2 separate regions of the Homo sapiens genome follow, and region 2 is linked to region 1. Evidence: promoter capture Hi-C in 16 types of primary human blood cells and fetal thymus (Javierre and others, 2016). All regions are on one chromosome and are shown on one strand. Each heading gives the region's core, a stretch centred on a gene start or on the middle of the fragment in contact. The rest is flanking DNA. Distances are from core to core; before and after follow the strand shown.

Region 1 (5,995 bases), core at 1,654-4,153:
TCACTCGTCGCATGGGCTGGAGTGCGGTGCGGGATCTCGGCTCACTGCAACCTCTGCCTCCTGGGTTGAAGCGATTCTCCTGCGTCAGCCTCCCGAGTAGCTGGGATTACAGGTGCCCGCCACTACGCCCAGCTAATTTTTTTGTATTTTTAGTAGAGATAAGGTTTCACCATGTTGGCCAGGCTGGTCTCGAACTCCTGACTCGTGATTCGCCCACCTTGGCCTCCCAAAGTGCTGGGATTACAGGCGTGAGCCACCGCACCCGGCCACATTTTTTTTTTTTTTTTTTTGAGACAGGATCTTAGTCTGTCACCCAGGCTGGAGTACAGTGGCATGAACATGGCTCACTGCAGCCTCAATCTCTTGGGTTCAGGTGATCCTTCTGCCTTAGCCTCCCCATTAGCTGGGACCACAGGCATATACCATCACACCTAGCTAATTTTTAAATTTTTGGTAGAGGCCAGGCGCGGTGGCTCACGCCTGTAATCCCAGCACTTTGGGAGGCCGAGTCGGGTGGATCACCTGAGGTCGGGAGTTCGAGACCAGCCTGGCCAAAATGGTGAAACCCTGTCTCTACTAAAAATAAAAAATAAAAATAAAAATTAGCTGGGCGTAGTGGCGGGCGCCTGTAATCCCAGCTACTCGGGAGGCTGAGGCAGGAGAATCGCTTGAACCCAGGAGGCAGAGGTTGCAGTGAGCCAAGATCGCGCTACTGCACTCCAGCCTGGGCAACAGAGTGAGATTCTGTCTCAAAAAAAAAATAATAATAATGCTATTTATTGACTTTACACCTTGTACCAGGCATGGGAAGCTTTGCCTCCATTACGTCACTGAATCTCATAACCTCCTTTTCCAGCAGAGGAAAATGAGGTTGGTTCACAGACCACGTTGTCAGCTGTGCTCTGTCCAGAACGCACTGGCCTCCAAGTAGACAGCCCTGGACTGGTAGGGAAGCCGGCTATGATCCGGTGGCGCCCCCTGGAGGTCTATCGGGAACATGGTAAAGAACCTAAAAATGGGTGGGCCACAGTAGCTCATGCCTGTAATCCCAGCACTTTGGGGGACCAATGCGGGAGAATTGCTTGAGCCCAGGAGTTCAAGACCAGCCTGGGCAACATTGGGAGACCCACCCCCCGCCATCTCTACAAAAAAAAAATTAGGCCGGGCGCGGTGGCTCAGGCCTGTAATCCCAGCACTTTGGGAGGCCGAGGCGGGTGGATCACCTGAGGTCAGGAGTTCAAGACCAGCCTGGCCAACGTGGTGCCACACTGTCTCTAATAAAAACACGAAAATTAGGGCCGGGCTCGGTGGCTCACGCCTGTAATCCCAGCACTTTGGGAAGCCGAGGCGGGCGGATCACGAGGTCAGGAGATTGAGACCATCCTGGCTAACACGGTGAAACCCCCTCTCTACTAAAAATACAAAAAGTTAGCCAGGTGTGGTGGCGGGCGCCTGTAGTCCCAGCTACTCGGTAAGCTGAGGCAGGGAATCGCTTGAACCCGGGAGGCCGAGATGTGCGATCTCACACCACTGCACTCCGGCCTGGGCGACAGAGCGATACTCCATCTCAAAATACAAATACAAAATAAAAAAATACAATACAAAAATGAGCCGGGCTTGCGTACCTGTAGACCAGCTACTCAGGAGACAGAGGCAGGAGAATCCCTTGAGCTCTGGAGGTCGAGGCTGCAGTAAGCCATGATCTTGCCCATTGCACTCCAGCCTGGGCGACAGAGGAAGACCTTGTCTCTAAAAACCAAAACAAAGAAACTAAAAATAAGCATTCGGATTTGTTAGGGGGCGACAAGGGAGGCACTCCAGGATCTGTGGACTCCCCACTTTGTTCTGTCCTTGGAGAGCCCTGGAAGGTCTGAGAGGGGACGGGACCTGGTTTAAGGGGGTAGGGGAGAGGACCCTGGTCTAGGGGGTAAGGGACACAAATACCTAATCTGAGGGGTTTCGGGGGGACATGGCCCTGCCCTGGGGAATCTAAACTGGGAGGCATGGTCTGGCAGGCCCAATCCTGAAGGCTTTCTGAGGGCAATAAGGCCCTGCCTTTAAACAAATGAAAAAACGCCAGGCACGGTGGCTCACGCCTGTAATCCCAGCACTTTGGAAGGCTGAGGCGGGAGGATCACGAGGTCAGGAGATCGAGACCATCCTGGCTAACGCGGTGATACCCGTCTCTACTAAAAATACAAAAAATTAGCCAGGCGTGGTGGCGGGCGCCTGCAGTCCCAGCTACTCGGGAGGCTGAGGCAGGAGAATGGCGTGAACCCAGGAGGCGGAGCTTGCAGTGAGCCGAGATCGCGCCACTGCACTCCAGCCTGGGCAACAGAGCAAGACTCCGTCTCAAAAAAAACAAAAACAAAAACAAAAACAAAAACAAAAAAACAAATAAAAAAACAAAACCACATAACTGGATAAAGAAAAAACCATCTCCGACAGCCTTGGAGGCGGGATGAAGGCGTGGCCCGGTGGGCGTGACCAACAGCAAAAGTTTAAGCGTTATTGGCTGTATTCCTTAGTTGCTCACTCCAGAACTGCCCACTTATGGGCGGGGGTCACTCCTTCAGGCTTAACAGTCATTGGCTGAATTGGGCCAGAGAGGTCTCATTGGCTGAATTCCTGCACCGGCTCGTCGGAGGCGGGACCCAAAGTAGGCTAGGCCTACGGAAGCTGGGTCTTCTTGCTGTGAGGTCGCGTTCCCCAGTGTTACGGAGGGTCCTTGAGGCAGGAGTGAAAATTGGGTCTGGGGGTTAGTCCTGGGGTGGAGGTCTGGGCACGCCGGGTCGGACCCCCTCCATCTTCGGTTTTGCACACCCCGCTTTCCAGCGCGGAGTCGCGGCGGGTAGGGCGGCGTCGCGTGCGTGACGTCATCCAGCGGCGCCTCGCGAGGCTCCAGTGGCCTTGACCTCCCGCGGCGTGGGAGGCTGCGCGGCGATGCTGCAGTTCGTCCGGGCCGGGGCGCGGGCCTGGCTTCGGCCTACCGGCAGCCAGGTGAGGCCAGGGGCTGGAGGCGTGGTCGAAGGATGAAATTTGGGGGTGTCCAGGGGTCGTCTCTCACTTTCGCCCAACCCTTGCAGGGCCTGAGTTCCCTGGCGGAAGAGGCAGCGCGTGCGACCGAGAACCCGGAGCAGGTGGCGAGCGAGGGTAAGGCAACCGGGGTGGCTCCAGGAGGGGCGGCGACAGAGAGGTCTGACCCTTGACCCTAACCTCTGACCCCCGCAATCGCTCCAGGTCTCCCGGAGCCCGTGCTGCGCAAAGTCGAGCTCCCGGTACCCACTCATCGACGCCCAGTGCAGGCCTGGGTCGAGTCCTTGCGGGGCTTCGAGCAGGAGCGCGTGGGCCTGGCCGACCTGCACCCCGATGTTTTCGCCACCGCGCCCAGGTGAGCGAGGGCTGTAATGGTGAACTGAGTGGCAGAGGGATGAAGAGCGGGATTTCAGGAGTCACGATGACTTTGGGCTTGTACCCTTGGGAAAGTGCTGTATTTCTACAGCCTCCGTTTCTCCACCTGTCAAAGGGGAATGATGACAGTTTCCCCTGCTGTAGCGCTGTGTGAGATTGAAGCCTGAGAGGTGACATCATCTAAGGGTTAGGGAGACAGAATTCTGGAGCCCGACTGATTAGGTTCAAATCCTGCCTTCCCCTCTTGTCCCTCAGTGTCCCTATTTTGTCAGCGGTCGGGAGGTTGCTGTGATGAATAAATGACTTAATTCTGGCACATAATAAGTTCTATAGAAATGTTGATAATCTTTGTTAACTGGTTTTTGCAAATAAGAGCACTAAAAAGACTAAACCATTCCTCGGTGCCTGGAAGAGGCTGTTTGCATTTTAGTTACCCTGCTGTTCATAACATCTCTAAGAAAATGTAGGGGCCACCCTGGGCGCAGTGGCTCACGCCTGTAATCCCAGCACTTTGGGAGGCCAAGGCGGGCGGATCACGAGGTCAGGAGATCGAGACCATCCTGGCTAACATGGTGAAACCCCGTCTCTACTAAAAATACAAAAAAAAATTAGCCGGGCGTGGTGGCGGGCGTCTGTAGTCCCAGGTACTCTGGAGGCTGAGGCAAGAGAATGGCGTGAACCCGGGAGGCGGAGCTTGCAGTGAGCCGAGATCGCGCCACTGCACTCCATCCTGGGCAACACTCTGTCTCAAAAAAAAAAAAAAAAAAGAAAGAAAAGAAAATGTAGGGGCCAGTTACTGTGGCTCACATCTGTAATCCCAGCACATTGGGAGGCCGAGGTGGGCGGATCACTTGAAACCAGGAGTTGCAGACCAGCCTGGCCAACATGATGAAACCCCGTCTCTACCAAAAATACAAAAATTAGCCGGACGTCTTAGTGCAAGCCTGTAGTCCCAGCTACTCAGGAGGCTGAGGCATGAGAATCGCTTGCACCTGGGGAGATGGAGGTTGCAGTGAGCCGTGATTATACTACTGCACTCCAGCCTGGGCGACAGAGACAGACTCCATCTCAAAAAAAAAAACAGGTGAAATTGATTTCAATAATGTATTTAACCTGTATTTAAAACTATGTCGAAATCACATTGTAGCATGGGGCACTGGCCATGTTTCAGATGTTGAGTATGTGACTGTATGGAATGGTATAGAACTAGAGAGGAAAACCAGTCCCTGAAGAAGGTGGCAATAAGTGAAGTGTAATAGCAGGAAAAAAGTAATGGTAGGAAAAACAAGGAAGAAGGGGTGGCTTTTTTTTTCTGAGATGAAGTTTCGCTCTTGTCGCCCAGGCTGGAGTGCAATGGCATGCTCTCAGCTCACTTCAACCTCCGCCTCCTGGGTTCTACTAATTCTCATGCCTCAGCCTCCCGAGTAGCCAGAATGACAGACATGTACCACCGTGCCCAGCTAATCTTTGTATATTTTGGAGAGACATCACTTTGCCATGTTGCCCAGGCTGGTCTTACTCCTTGCCTCAAGTGATCCACCTGCCTTGGCCTCCCAAAGTGCCAGGATTCCAGGCATGAGCCACTGCACCTGGTCAGGGTGGCTCTTTCTTTAGAAGGTACCTTTCAGCAGTTATTGGAGCTGCTACCTGTAGGCTGAGAAAGAACCATCCAGGAGAAGAGTGTTTCAGGCAGAGGGAACAGCAAGTGCCAAGGCCCTGAGGCAGAATTTCAAGATGGGGTCAGTGAGGGGCAGAGGCAAATCGCCCAGGGCCCTGGAGGCAGAAGGGAGAATCCTGGGTTTTCCTATAGTGGGGTGGGAGCGTTTGAAGCAGAGTTGGGCTTCTCATGTGTCCTTCCTCCCCGCAGGCTGGACATACTGCACCAGGTTGCTATGTGGCAGAAGAACTTCAAGAGAATTGTGAGTGCCTAAATGGAGCAAGGTGGTGGGAAGGAGCTTCCTGGGGAGGTTGGGGATAGGACCCAGAGGAAGCCCATCGCTGGGTTTTCTCTGGACTGCTCGGCTGGGGCCTCATCTGTCTCCTGAACTATTCACCGATGGGTCCATTTTTGGTTCTCTTTTTTTTGTTTGTTTTTGAGATGGAGATGGAGTCTCACTCTGTCACCCAGGCTGGAGTGCAGTGGCGCAATCTTGGTTCACTGCAACCTCCGCTTCCTGGGTTCAAGCGATTCTCCTGCCTCTGCCTCCTGAGTAGCTGGGATTACAGGTGTGCACCACCATGCAGGCTAATTTTTGTATTTTTAGTAGAGATGGAGTTTCACCATGTTGGTCAGGCTGGTCTCAAACTCCTGACCTCAAGGAACCTACCTGCCTTGGCCTCCCAAAGTGCTGGGATTACAGGCGTGAGCCACCGTGCCCAGCTCATTTTCAGTTGTTTTCTGATCACTCACTGATGTGGGCATTGTGGTGGGTGAGAGGATATAGCAGGGACCACGAGGACAAAACAGGCAAGGTCCGGCTGTGTGCAAGTGGCTCAGGCCTGTAATCCCAGCACTGGAAGCTGAGGTGGGTGGGTTGCTTGGGGCCAGGAAAGACCAGCCTGGGAAACAGCAAGACCCAGTCTC
Region 2 (6,173 bases), core at 3,229-5,728, 630 kb before region 1:
TCCCGGGCTCAAGTGATCCTCCCACTTCAGCCTCCTGAATAGCTGGGACCATAGGTGCGTATCATCACTCATTATTATTATTATTATTTTGAGACAGAGTCTCACTCTGTTGCCCAGGCTGGAATGCAGTGGCATGATCTCAACTCATTGCAACCTCTGCCTCCCAGGTGCAAGCGATTATCAGGCCTCAGCCTCCCGAGTAGCTGGGATTTCAGGTATGCACTACCATGCCTGGCTAATTTTTGCATTTTTAGTAGAGACGCAGTTTCGCCATATTGGCCAGGCTGGTCTTGAACTCCTGGCCTTAAGTGATTCTCCCACTTCAGCCCCCCAACTAGCTGGGACTACAGGTGCACACCACTGGGTCCGGCTAATTTTTTGTAGTTTTAGTAGAGACAAGTTTTCACCAGATTGCCTAGGCTAGTCTCAAACTCCTGGGCTCAAACAATCCTCCTGACTTGGCCTCCCAAAGTGCTGGGATAATAAGCATAAGCCACGATGCCTGGCCCATTACTTCTATTTAATACTGAAAAAAACCTACACTCAAACAACCCTAGTAGTCGGTCTGATACTTGTCCCTAGAGCCTGATCTCCTGTATATGGTGTTACCCCCCCGCCATATGACCAGAAGACAGTGCAGACCTGCACAGAACAATTCAGTAGTCACCAGCCACGTGTGTTATTGATAACTTCATTACGTACCTAAGATGACTTAAGAACAAAATCTAAAATTTTCAAAAGTCGGCCGGGTGCAGTGGCTCACACCTATAATCCCAGCACTTTGGGGGACCGAGGCAGACAGATCACCTAAGGTCAGGAGTTCAAGACCAGCCTGGCCAACATGGCAAAACCATCTCTACTAAAGATAGAAAAAGTAGCCGGGCGTGGTGGCACTTGCCTGTAATCCCAGGTACTCGGAAGGCTGAGGCAGGAGAACTGCTTGACCCTGGAGGCAGAGGTTGCAGAGGTTGCAGTGAGCCGAGAGAGCGCGCAGCCTCTCCGAACTGGACGCACAGGGAGGACTGATAGTCCCTGGAGAAGCGAGTGAAGTGAAGCGGATCTGAGAGGCTCCTAGGCGACAGCGCGCAATCATTCCTTTGCCGCCCCCTGCTATCCCCGGGACCGCCAAGGAGGTGGAACTCACCACAGCCTGGGCAGACTCCACCACCATAAAGGCGAAACCGCACTGACGGAGAGGAGCCAGCGCCGGAAAAGATGGCGGTGGTGCGCTGACGTCACTTCCGCTTCAACACTCTGGCCGGGCGAGGCTCGTGGGCTCCAGTTTCAGCCACGTAGGACCGGGTAGAACACAGAAATTCTAGTTTCCTCTCGGGTGGGTGCAGAAAGGGCCTGGGGTTGGCTCAGGGAGGGGGATGCAGAACTAGGTCCAGAGAAAAAGGTGAGGTTAGAACCGGGCCTCCAGACGGAACTGTGGGCGAGGGGAGGGGCTCGTACTCGGGGGGTGATTTAGAGGAGGGACCCGGCCTAGCCGGTGGTTCAGGTGGCCGGTCGGGCTGGAAGGGCGGGGATGAGGGATGGGACGCATCCCCGGGGGATGCTCCTCCAAAGCTTTTATCGGGCGAGCGCAGTGGCTCACGCCTGTAATTCCTGCACTTTGGGAGGCTAAGGTAGGTAAATAGCTTGAGTCTGCTGGGAATGGGTGCTCGCTTGGTGTCACAAAATCAACACTGAGACAAAGGATCTCAGCAAGGCTAGTTTTACTTTCTGCAGAATGGGTGCCACTGGCTGGCAGTCTTGCCACCAGAGCACACATTAACAAAGGAGACAGGGTTTTTTTAAACTTGAAGTGTCCATCCTTCTGCTGTGTCCAGCTTCCATTGGCTGGAACGGGACCTCACCTTCCTGTACTTCACTGGATTGGCTAGCAACTTAGAACTTCCCAAAAGAGGCAATGGCAGAGGAGAACAAAGGAAGAGAGGAAGTAACTTGTGGACTGTTGAGAGAGGCAAAAACACTTCTAAATAGGGAAAGGAATAGGCCATGACCTAATAGTTGCTTGGACCAGTTCAGGCATGCCAGGGCAAATATCTAGGCTAAAATGTGGGAGCTAAAAACAGAGTCTATTGATTTCTTTATTACGGCTGGCAGAATTTAACAATATTACCACAGGTCTTTGAGAAAATTTGGCTTCTAAGAGGGATTACTATTTATTTCAATCAGACTGGGAGGAAAGTCCCTTTGAAGAGGAACCTGTATTTATTTCATTTTCTACAAGTCCAAGAGTTTGAGACCAGCCTGGGCAAAGTAGCAAGACCCTGTCTCTCTCTCTCTCTCTCTCTCTATATATATATATATAAACATATATGTATAAATACATATAAATATATAAATATATAAAAAATATATAAATATACATGTTCAAAATGCTTGTTCCCTGGTGCCATAAAGAAATTAGCACTTGAACATAAATTTAATTTACTCAGCAAGGCCATTTTTACTTCCTGCAGAAACGGTATACTCACCAGCAGTTTTGCCACGAGAGTACACCAAACAAAGGAGATAGGGTCATTTATAACCTGATGCTTCCAACCTACTGCTGTGTCCAGTTTCCACTGGCTGGAATGGGACCTCACGTTCTGGCTAGCAACTTATAACTTTTTAAAAGAGGCAAGGGTAGAGGAGAACAAAGGAAGGAGGAAGTAACTTGTGGAATGCTGAGAAGGGTCAAAACATCTTCAAATAAGGAAAAAGAACAGGCTATGCCCTAATGCTTGCCTGGACCAGTACAAGCATGCCAGGGCAAATATGTAGACTAAACTGTGGGAGCTAAGAATATAAAGTACATTGATTTCTTTATCACGGCTCACAGATACTTGAGAATGTTAGCACAGGTCTTTGAATAAATTTTGCTTCTAAGAGAAGTTACTATTTATTCCTAATTAAATGTGAAGGAACGTCTTTGAAGAGGAACCTCTGCTTTACTTTTTAGATATAAATATAAAGCTTGTTTGTATGCCTCTCCTCATGTTCCTAGAGCCTTTCCATGATTCTTCCATATTGATAAAGCTGCCAATGAATGGCATGGTCTATCCCTTCCATTCAGTCAGAGTTTCTGTAGGCCTTTTTTTCTTCATTCTTTATTTTTTAGAACCTGCTGATTCCATTGGGTTTTCTTTTTCTTTCTTGCTTGCTTGCTTGCTTGCGACAGATCTCACTGGATCAGACCAGGCTGGAGTGCAGTGGTGTGATCTCAGCTCACCGCAACCTCCACCTCCCAGGTTCAAGCAATTCTCCTGCCTCAGCCTCTGGAGTAGCTGGGATTACAGGCGCCTGCCACCACGCCCAGCTAATTTTTGTATTTTTAGTAGAGAACGATTTCACCAGGTTGGCCAGGCTGATCTCGAACTCCTGGCCTAAAATATCTGCCAGGCCAAGATGGTAGGATCGTTTAAGGCCAGGAGTTTAAGACAAGCCTGGGCTACACAGCAAAACCCCATCTCTCTATATATATATAAAAAAAATTTAAATTAAAAAATGTTTTGTTTTGTTTTGTTTTTTTGAGACATAGTTTCGCTCTGCCACCCAGACTGGAGTGCAGTGGTGCGATCTTCACTCACTGCAAACTCTGCCTCCTGGGTTCAAGCCATTCTTCTGCCTCAGCCTCCTGAGTAGTTGGGACTACAGGCATGTGCCACTGCGCCCAACTAATTTTTGCATTTTTAATACAGACATGGTTTCATCATATTGACCCAGCTGGTCTCAAAGTCCTGACCTCGTGATCCATCCACCTGGTCCTCCCAAAGAGCTGGGATTACAGGCATGAGCCACTGCCCCAGCCAAAAATATGTATTTCTGTTGTTATTTTTCTGATCTTACCACATGGGCCAGGAACACATTTCCTACGTTGTAAAATAGCACTGATACCAGACATTCTCCCCAAGATTATTCAGAAATGTAACATACTCCCAATAAAAATACCAAAAGTTTTTTTCTGGAGTTAAGTACATTGATACTGAAGTTTATGTGGAGGAACAAACATCTGATAATAACCAAGAAAACAAAAACAAAAGCAATGATGAGCAGCAGATATTAAAACATACTATTGACAGTTTTCATGCAAGGCAAAGAATTACATTATTTTAAAATAAAAATAAAGTCCGGGCACAGTGGCTCACGCCTGTAATCCCAGCAATTTGGGAGGCCGAGGCAGGCAAATTACCTGAAGTCGGGGGTTTGATACCAGCCTGGCTAACATGGTGAAACCCTGTCTCTACTAGAAGTACAAAAATTAGCAAGCGTGGTGGCACATGCTTGTAATCCCAGCTACTTGGGAGGCTGAGGCAGGAGAGTTGCTTGAGCCTGGGAGATGAAGGTTGCAGTGAGCCGAGATTGTGCCACTGAATTGCAGCCTGGCTGACAGAGTGAGACTCTGTCTAAAAAATTAATTAATTAATTAATTTAAAAAACATACTATAAAGCCTCTATAATTAAAACTATGTGGTACTAGCACGTGAAACAGAAACTAATAAAATATCAAAAAATAGACCCATGAACATGTAGAAATTTGGTTCATAAATGTATTTTGCCAGATGCGGTGGCTCATGCCTGTATCCTAGCAATTTGGGAGACTGAGGCAGGAGGATCACTTGAGGTCAGGAGTTCAAAACCAGCCTGCCCAACATGGTGAAACCCCATCTCTATTAAAAATACAAAAACATAGCCGGGTTCGGTGGCTCATGCCTGTAATCCCAGAACTTTGGGAAGCCGAGGCAGCCGGATCATGAGGTCAGGAGTTCGAGACTAGTCTGACCAACATGGTGAAATCCCATCTCTACTAAAAATACAAAAATTAGCTGGGTGTGGTGATGCATGCCTGTAATCTCAGCTACTCAGGAGGCTGAGGCAGGAGAATTGCTTGAACCCAGAAGGCGGAGGTTGCAGTAAGCTGAGATCGCACCACTGCACTCCAGCCTGGGCAACAGAGTGAGACTCTGTCTCAAAAAAGAAAAAAAATTTAGCCAAGCATGGCCGAGCATGCTGGCTCATGCCTGTAATCCCAGCACTTTGGGAGGCTGAGGCAGGCAGATCACGACGTCACGAGATCGAGACCATCCTGGCCAACTTGGTGAAACCCCGTCTCTACTAAAAATAGAAAAATTAGCTGGCATGGTGGCGGGTGCCTGTAATCCCAGCTACTCAGGAGGCCGAAGTAGGAGAATCGCTTGAACCCAGGAGGCGGAGGTTGCAGTGAGCCAAGATCGCTCCCCTGCACTCCAGCCTGGCGATAGAGCGAGACTCCGTCTAAAAAAAAAAAAAAAAAAATTAGCCAAGCGTTGTGGTGGGCGCCTGTAAGCCCAGCTACTCGGGTGGCTGAGGCAAGAGAATTGCTCAAACCTGGGAGGCAGAGGTTGCAGTGAGCCGAGATCACGCCATTTCACTCCAGCCTGGCGACACAGCGAGACTCTGTCTCAAAAAAAAAAAAAAAAAAAAAAAAAAAAGCCGGGTGCATTGGCTGATGCCTATAATTCCAGCACTTTTGGAGGCAGAGGCGGGTGGATCACCTGAGGTCACGAGTTAGAGACCATCCTGACCAACATGAAGAAACCCCGTCTCTGCTAAAAATACAAAATTAGCTGGGCATGGTGGCACATGCTTATAATCCCAGGTACTCAGGAAGCTGAGGCAGGAGAACCGCTTGAACCCAGGAGGCGGAGGTTGGGGTGAGTGGAGATCGTGCCATTGCATTCCAGCCAGGGCAACAAGAGAGAAACACCGTCTAAAAAAAAAAAGTGGCATTTCAGATAAATGGGGCAAAAAATGCCATTTGTAACAAATGGAAGGTCTAAGATAGCTGGTTAGCCATCTGAGAAAAGATGAAATTAAATCCATACTTCACAGCATATACAAGAATAAACTCCAAGTGGACTAGGGATCTAAGTGTAAAAAATAAAACCACACACGTATTTAGGGTGTTTAAGTGATTTCTTGGCTGAGTAAGGAAAAAGATGTTACCACAAGGCGGCAGTAGCACACAAGCTTCATTTGGGATGTGCTTTGACAGGTTAGCAGTGGGGGAGGTAGCAAACAGCAAGAGAATATCCACAGGCTTCTACCTGTGGGTCGCTGCTCAGAAAGGGTGGAAAGGAAGAAAGACTCTCAGAGGAGAAGGGGAATCAAAGAGGGGGCTTATAAATAACTAAATGATGATATTC

The links. The method cuts DNA at HindIII sites, captures the fragments that hold promoters and counts their contacts. A CHiCAGO score of 5 or more calls a contact.
Region 2: a fragment that was not itself captured here is called in contact with the fragment with the promoter of MRPL4 in region 1 in 1 of 17 cell types (naive B cells); the score reaches 5.1 in naive B cells.

Annotation. Positions count from the first base shown.
Region 1 is chr19:10,249,311-10,255,305 of GRCh38, forward strand. MRPL4 (mitochondrial ribosomal protein L4) reads left to right here and starts at 2,904. Exons shown (of 9, transcript NM_015956.3): 1 at 2,904-3,000; 2 at 3,087-3,153; 3 at 3,241-3,391; 4 at 5,279-5,330. The coding sequence starts at 2,944. RefSeq lists a silencer at 840-889 and enhancers at 2,259-2,832, 2,287-2,436, 2,567-2,976, 2,833-3,406. The HindIII fragment of the contact is 20,723 bases long and covers 810-5,995 here.
Region 2 is chr19:9,620,018-9,626,190 of GRCh38, forward strand. It overlaps ZNF561-AS1 (ZNF561 antisense RNA 1), which reads left to right and starts at 1,465. Exons shown (of 4, transcript NR_122038.1): 1 at 1,465-1,628. ZNF561 (zinc finger protein 561) reads right to left here and starts at 1,215. Exons shown (of 6, transcript NM_152289.3): 1 at 1,145-1,215. RefSeq lists enhancers at 394-976, 1,125-1,544. The HindIII fragment of the contact is 3,033 bases long and covers 2,963-5,995 here.